Linked DNA regions of Homo sapiens: region 2 is linked to region 1. The links are contacts of gene promoters, found by promoter capture Hi-C in human tissues and cell types (Jung and others, 2019). All regions are on one chromosome and are shown on one strand. Each heading gives the region's core, a stretch centred on a gene start or on the middle of the fragment in contact. The rest is flanking DNA. Distances are from core to core; before and after follow the strand shown.

Region 1 (3,636 bases), core at 1,132-3,631:
CTATATAGAGAAACCTTCCACCCAAGGGTATAGAATTATTTAATTAAATCACACTATATTCTTGACTGAACTTTAAAATTTTTCTCCAAACACTATTCTGTAGTTATCCAAGCTCATGTAATAATCATAATAACTCTATACTGTAGGTACTTTTATTATCATCATTTAACAGATGAGGAAACTGAGCCCAGAGAGATAAATAACTCACCTAAGAACACACAGCAAGTAAGTAGCAGAACCTGGATTAACATAGTTTAGTCCATACTCTTAGCCATTATACTGCCTCTGTATCTACAGTCAGTTACTTTATAGTTTGGCTGCTTCTATGCATGTCATCTTGTTTTTATTACATTTTCTGATGGATTGTTGCAGATACAAAGAAAATCGGCTGATTTTTTTTAAGTTGATATGTGTATTGCATGATGTTGTTAAATTCTCTTCTTAGTTCTAATAGTCTATTAATTTTTTTTCTTTTTGTATATCAACTGTAAAAAGTGACAGTTTTACCTTTTCTTTTCCAATGTTTAAAGCTCTCATTTCTTTTTCTTTCCTTATAGCATTGGCCGAGACCTCCACGACAATGCTACACACTGTGAAGTAGTGATTGTGAGCTAAGACTGTCACTTATAGAAAAATCATGTATTCCTAGAAGAAGGTTTTCATTTCATCTTAGCTAGAGGACATGGAGCACTTCAGGAAACTATTTCACAAAAATGTAAATTAGAAACTGTGTCTGGTAGCCAATAATCCATTTTTAACAGTGGCCCTGTGCTCATCTAAGCAACAGAAATTACTTTTGTATAGGAGATGGCCCTTCCAGGGGAGAAACAGCTCAGTTGTGATACACTTGTCTTCATCCTGACTTTAAGTACATTTAACTCCACACTAAACCCTTGTGGCCACAACACAGCTCTGCACCTGTCATTTGCTCTAGACAAACTGCTAAACGCAATTGTTTCTGACAATGGATTACTCTGTATCCCGTGGGGGAATTCTCAGACAGCAGCATTAGAAGGGGCCTTAGAGATCAACCATTTCTCTTATTTTACACACACCTAAAACTCCCTACAGCCGTGCTTCATCAGCTTCGAGCAGATGAGCCACCCAGAAGGCAGCTCCAGTTATTAGGTCCTAGGGCCTGGGTGTAGTCAGGCCCTTTGGAAGCTCCAAGTCAGAGATCAAACACATCCTCCCCACTACCCACGCCTAGGGTGACTAATGCCTGTGGGAAAAACAACTGAACTAAAAAGTCCCACAGGAACCTCAAACCCAGCACATCCAAAATGGAACTTCTCACCATCTCCTCCAAACTCAGTCCTCTTATACAGTAATCCCTGTAAAGCTAGAACAATCTCCATTCCCCATTCTCAGGGCCTTCCTCTCCCGCTCACCTGAGGAGCTACCAAGCCTTGGCCCACAAGCCCTCTGAGAGTCCCTCCTGCCCACCCTGTGTTCTCCATACTGAATAAGGACTTGGCCACACCTTGTCAACTCTTCCCTCTGCTCTACTCCTGACCCCTGGATCCATCCTTCATGCTGTGGCTGAAGGGATCCCCCCATCATGCAAATTCTGCCACATCTCCCGCCTAAAACCCAGGAAGACTCCCCACTACTCTCAGCACAGAAAGTACACTCCTTAGTATGGCATCCCCTGCCCTCATGGCATGGCCCCATCCAGCCCTCCAGCCTCACACCCTGCAAGGACACCTAGACCCCCACCTCCCTCAACCCTTCATGACTGCGCTTCTGATCCCTGTTTCCCCTGGCTAGACCCTGCGTGCCCTCCCGCTGGAAGCGGTCTAATGCCTGCTTGTTTTTAACACTCAGGTTGGGGCCCCTGCCTGCTCCCGGGAGCCTTTGCTGACTCCTGGACCCCGTTGCTCCGGCTGAGCGTGGGCTCTTTCTCTAGGTCTTTCCTCCCAGGACTCTGTGTATTCATCCTATCGTTAAACTGGATTCTCTACAAGAGTAATAATTGCAGAGTCAGCCAGCTCTCATCCCTTTTCAGGTTTCAGAAAAGACCTGTGAACAAAACGCCTTGAGTCTGATTTAGTGTGGCAATGCCCCAAGGGTCCTGTTCTCCCTGGGTGTCCTGCACCTGGTGCAACGTCGGCCTGGCATCTAGTGAGCCATCTAAAGGAACGATGATGAGTGAATGATTTGCCTACCCCTTCCAGTACTAGGCTGGAGGTCGTGGTTAGGGCCCATCCCTACGCAGGACATGCAAAGTGGGAGGCACTCCTCTCTCTACGTCGGCAGGGGGCGCTGCACAGCTGCGGGGCGGGGTAGCTTAGACACGGGGCGTCCGGCTAAGGCCGGGGACCCAGGGTGGTGGGCGGGGTGTCCCGCCCGCCTGTGGACCCCGCGCAGTAACTGCGAACATTTCGCTTTCATTTTGGGCCGAGCTGGAGGCGGCGGGGCCGTCCCGGAACGGCTGCGGCCGGGCACCCCGGGAGTTAATCCGAAAGCGCCGCAAGCCCCGCGGGCCGGCCGCACCGCACGTGTCACCGAGAAGCTGATGTAGAGAGAGACACAGAAGGAGACAGAAAGCAAGAGACCAGAGTCCCGGGAAAGTCCTGCCGCGCCTCGGGACAATTATAAAAATGTGGCCCCCTGGGTCAGCCTCCCAGCCACCGCCCTCACCTGCCGCGGCCACAGGTCTGCATCCAGCGGCTCGCCCTGTGTCCCTGCAGTGCCGGCTCAGCATGTGTCCAGCGCGCAGTGAGTACTCAGCCCGCCAGGTCTTTGGCTCGCTCGGGTGCGGAGGGGCGGCTGCTTGGGAAGAGTGGGTAGAAACTCAAGTCTGCCTAAGGAGAGACTGGAACAGCAGCAGCCGTCTCCTGCAAAGAGGAATAAGAATAGGGGTCTCACCGTGTGCTAAATAGGGCATGTCTCTTTTCATCTCGAAACAGCCTGATGAGCTATCATTATGCCCACTTCGTAGAGGAGAAACTGAGGCCCAGCGTGGGAGATTTCCTGCTTTCCTGCCTAGGGTCCCTCAGCTACAAACAGAAGGCAGATCCTAGCCAGTTCTAAAGTCAGGCTTGGCCGGGTGCAATGGCTCACGCCTGTAATCCCAGCACTTTGGGAGGCCAAGGCGGACAGATCTCCTGAGGTCAGGAGTTCAAGACCAGCCTGACCAACATGGTGAAACCCCGTCTCTACTAACAAATACACAAATTAGCCGAGTGTGGTGGTGGGTGCCTGTAATCCCATCTACTCGGGAGTCTAAGGCAGGGAAAATTGCTTGAACTCGGAGGTGGAGGTTGCAGTGAGCCAAAATCGTGCCACTGCACTCCAGTCTGGGCCACAGAGTGAGACTCCGTCTTAAAAAAACAAAAAAAGTCAGGCTTTCTCACTCCACTGTTTTTAAAACACTGGGTCCCAAGTCTGACTCAGCCACTTCACCACCTGGTCTGGGTTTCCCTGATCAAAAACATGTAGGCTTTCTCTGGGTGAGTGTTGGGTTCAACACCCTTGTCCAAGCTCATCTCTAGACCCTCACAGGGAGCTGGCTTCTAGCCCTAGAATAGAGTGGCGCTTTGTAATAACTCGAGTCATCTCTCAGGTGTTGAAGGAAAAGTGTTGGAAATGGGTTGAGGGAGGTGGGTGCCAAGCATGAATGGATGGGTGAAG
Region 2 (3,466 bases), core at 93-2,592, 34 kb before region 1:
CAGTCTAAAACTGGATCTTCTTGTCTCCACGAGAAAAGAAGAAGTTAGCTTTCATCAGTCACTCTGTGTGTGGAATGTTATATAATGTTGTGCAAGACATTAGGTTGGTGCAAACTTAATTGTGGTTTTTTATTTGCACCAACCCGATACATAAAAAATTTTAAAGACATTATTATTATTAACCAGATGCCAACTGCATTTATAAAATTTTATTTTCTTAGTCATCTCAATTTTGTAAATTAGTTTCAAACCAACAAAGCAAACTCCATTTTGTGCTTAGGAGAGGTGTACACACTAGGCTAGCAAGCCCTGTGGGAGTCTATTTATAAAAGAATAAGAGAGTCAAGGTTGTGTTCTGAATGCCCATTTTATATGCATGGCTTGAGTTAAGTTCTTTATGCATAATTCATATGGTCATTTACAGGCTTTTACATGACTCTTCCTTTAAGAGTTAACTAACAAAGAGGACATTATCAGCCATGGCACCAGGATATTATGCAAATCTTTCTATCTCTGAGCCAACAGAAAAGGGGATGGGTTGATTAATTAAAAAGATGAAGGAGGAAATGGGGGGTTCACACCCCTCTTGATGTTACTCATCATTTATTAATGTATTTAACTGAAAATAATTTTGAAGGATAAATGTGACTGTGTATTACCTCTGGTTGTGAAGGCACTGCTTAACCCTGTGCATAACCATTTGAGTAGATGGAAAATGTTTGATTTCATTCATTTCACAAGAAGCCCCACAATATGCCATCTGTAACCTGGAGAAGCAGGCAAGCTGGGGTGTAATTCAGTTTGAGTCCAAAGGCCTTTGAACTGGAGTGGGGGAGTAGGTGTCGGAGGGCAGGGGGTGCTAGTTTAAGTCCCTGAGTCTAAAAGCTTAAGAACCAGGAGCTGCTCCAATGTCTGAGGGGAGAAAAAGATGAATATATCAGCTCAAAAGTGAGAGGGAGTCCACCCTTGCTCCCCCATTTTGCTGTATCCCAGTGGACCCTCACTGGACTGGATGATGGCTGCCCACATTGGGGAGGGCAATCTTCCTCACTCAATCTGCTGATTCAGTGCTAATCCTTCCCAGAAACAGCCTCACAAACTCACCTAGAAATAATGTTTCACCAGCTATCTAGGCATCCCTTAGCCCAGCTTGACACATAAAATCAATCATCACACAATATAAGTAAAAATATTTGTCTGTATTTACCTTCATACATCGTGAGAGGGGCTACACAAATGTATGAACAGAAGGAGGCAGGAATTATTGGGGGCCATCTTGAAGACAGGTTACCACTGCCCTGTCACTATTAAACCATATATTAGCCCTGGACCAACTATACGGATTTTTGCTTTTGAAAAACATAAACACCTATCATGTTTATGCTAACATACTTGGAGTCTTTTTCTTACATCTGCCTAATCTATCTCCTAATGAAACCACTAATTTGCCACACAAAATTAGAAAAGCCAGCTGGAATCAGCTCACAAAGGGCCCTCAATGCTAAATTAAAAGCTTGGGCAAACCACTGAAGATTTTTGAATACTATTTTCAGTAGATTAATCAATCAGGCAACGGAATGGATCACAGTGAGGAGAGCCTGAAGTCAAGAAGATAATTCCAGGGGCCGTTACCTGAACTAAAATGGTGGCCATGAGAGTTAGAAGAAGTGCTAGATGTGAGAGACACTGAGGAAGAAGAGTCCCCAGGACATGAAGAGTGACCAGAGGTGTGAGGCAAGGGAGTTGGAGGAGTCAGGATGACCTCCATCATCCTGGGGTGTCTGGGGGATATGAGGTACTGTTAGATCATCTCAACAAGACACATGCATATTTTAACAACTCTGGAGCAAATAATAGAATTCTCTAAAGGGGTAGGCTGTAATGGGAATGTCAGGCAATGGAGAACAGGCAGTGAGAGAACTTCATCTGAGGCCAAGCCAAACCTAGATGGGTCCTTCAAAACCCTACCTCAGCTGGGCGTGGTAGCTCACGCCTGTAATCCCAGCACTTTGGGAGGACGAGGTGGATGGATCACCTGAGGTCAGGAGTTCAAGACCAGCCTGGCCAACATGGTGAAATCCTGTCTCTACTAAAATCACACAAAAAAATTAGCCAGGTGTGGTATGCGCGCCTGTAATCCCAGCTACGCGGGAGGCTAAGGCAGGAGAATCACTTGAACCTGGGAGGCGGAGGTCGCAGTGAGCCAAGATTGCGCCACTGCACCCCAGCCTGGGTGACAGAGTAAGACTCTGTCTCAAAATAAATAAATAAATAAAAATAAAACCATATCTCATTAGACTGCTGTTTTAACAATAGGGCCAGCATTTGTCACCCAAATCAGTGATCAATGAAATCACCTCATAAGGCACCATCCTCATGCTGGCTTCCTCCCTCCTCAGCTCTTCCACAACATGTCCTACTGTCACCTGATTGACAGCTTCCCCTCTGTCTCTTCCTTTAGTCTGTACCTCTTCGGGTATAAGGACTAGGTCCTCTGCATCTCTGAGTCACCACAGTAAGCCTAGTGCCTGCGGTAGCATGCATTTAATAAACACTTGCTTACTGCCTTCAGAGTCTGCAGCACATGTTTAAAAACATTCCCTAATCCTCTGAAGGTGACTTAATCTTGTTATCATTCTTCCTTACTCTGTGCCCAGCTCAGTGTTAAGCACTGGGGATAACAAGACAACCCTGGAGCCTGTCCTCAAGAAGCTTTTGACTTTATTCCCTAAACCTGAGAACATAAGATACATTCCCCCATATTCCTAATACTTACTCTTTGGTATGTTCTAATTCTAAATGATGGTGTCATTGCATTCTAATTCCACATTACAGAAGATTTGTGGATTGCCCTGATTCAGCTGTGGGGTAGACAGCACCTTGCTTCTGTTCCAAAATAACCTCTATTATTTTTGATTATTCAAATAATATATACTTATTGATAAATTTTATAAAACGAATTTCATGTCAAAATTTGATATGTTTTCTTAGGTAATTTTTTCTGTACATACGTGAATATATCTGTAATTATAACATTAAGAAGCATCTTCTGTTTTCTCATAGAAACAATGTTATAATTGGGATTGTCTTCTGATTTGGATTTCAGCATTTTATACATTGCAGAGGCCACAAATGATGTACCATAAAATACTGCCACAACTACAAATTTCTATAATCTTTAAAAATTATAAAATGAATAGTAGGTCCTTTAACATGAGTAATGATCATAATTCCTACTGCAGATGTTATCCAAAATTATAGTGAGGACACAGAGGCTTCCAAGCCACCGAGTGCTGCTGTTAATTTTTTTCATGAGGTGAGCATTCTTGGAACTAAAGAATTCCCTTCCCAGACTACCAGGGAGAGAAATCTCCAGGATCACTAGAACAATGCCTTTTCAGTGCCTGATTGCATTCCCAGCAAAGTTGGTGCTCATAGCCCCAGTCTCCATGTCTGGCCAGTTATG

The links. Contacts are between HindIII fragments. The study calls those that stand out against the background at their distance.
Region 2: a contact is called between a fragment that was not itself captured here and the fragment with the promoter of IL12A in region 1, in 2 of the 25 tissues and cell types used here (mesenchymal stem cells and psoas muscle).

Annotation. Positions count from the first base shown.
Region 1 is chr3:159,986,454-159,990,089 of GRCh38, forward strand. It overlaps IL12A (interleukin 12A), which reads left to right and starts at 2,382. Exons shown (of 7, transcript NM_001397992.1): 1 at 2,382-2,721. The coding sequence starts at 2,706. IL12A-AS1 (IL12A antisense RNA 1) reads right to left here. Exons shown (of 10, transcript NR_108088.1): 9 at 2,644-2,840. RefSeq lists enhancers at 41-1,240, 2,092-2,592, 2,593-3,093, 2,593-2,642 and silencers at 2,153-2,352, 2,423-2,472. The HindIII fragment of the contact is 7,471 bases long and covers 1-3,636 here.
Region 2 is chr3:159,953,480-159,956,945 of GRCh38, forward strand. The region is part of intron 9 of IL12A-AS1 (IL12A antisense RNA 1); the gene reads right to left. Among named protein-coding and RNA genes, the nearest start is that of IL12A, 34 kb to the right of the region's middle. The HindIII fragment of the contact is 4,370 bases long and covers 1-3,466 here.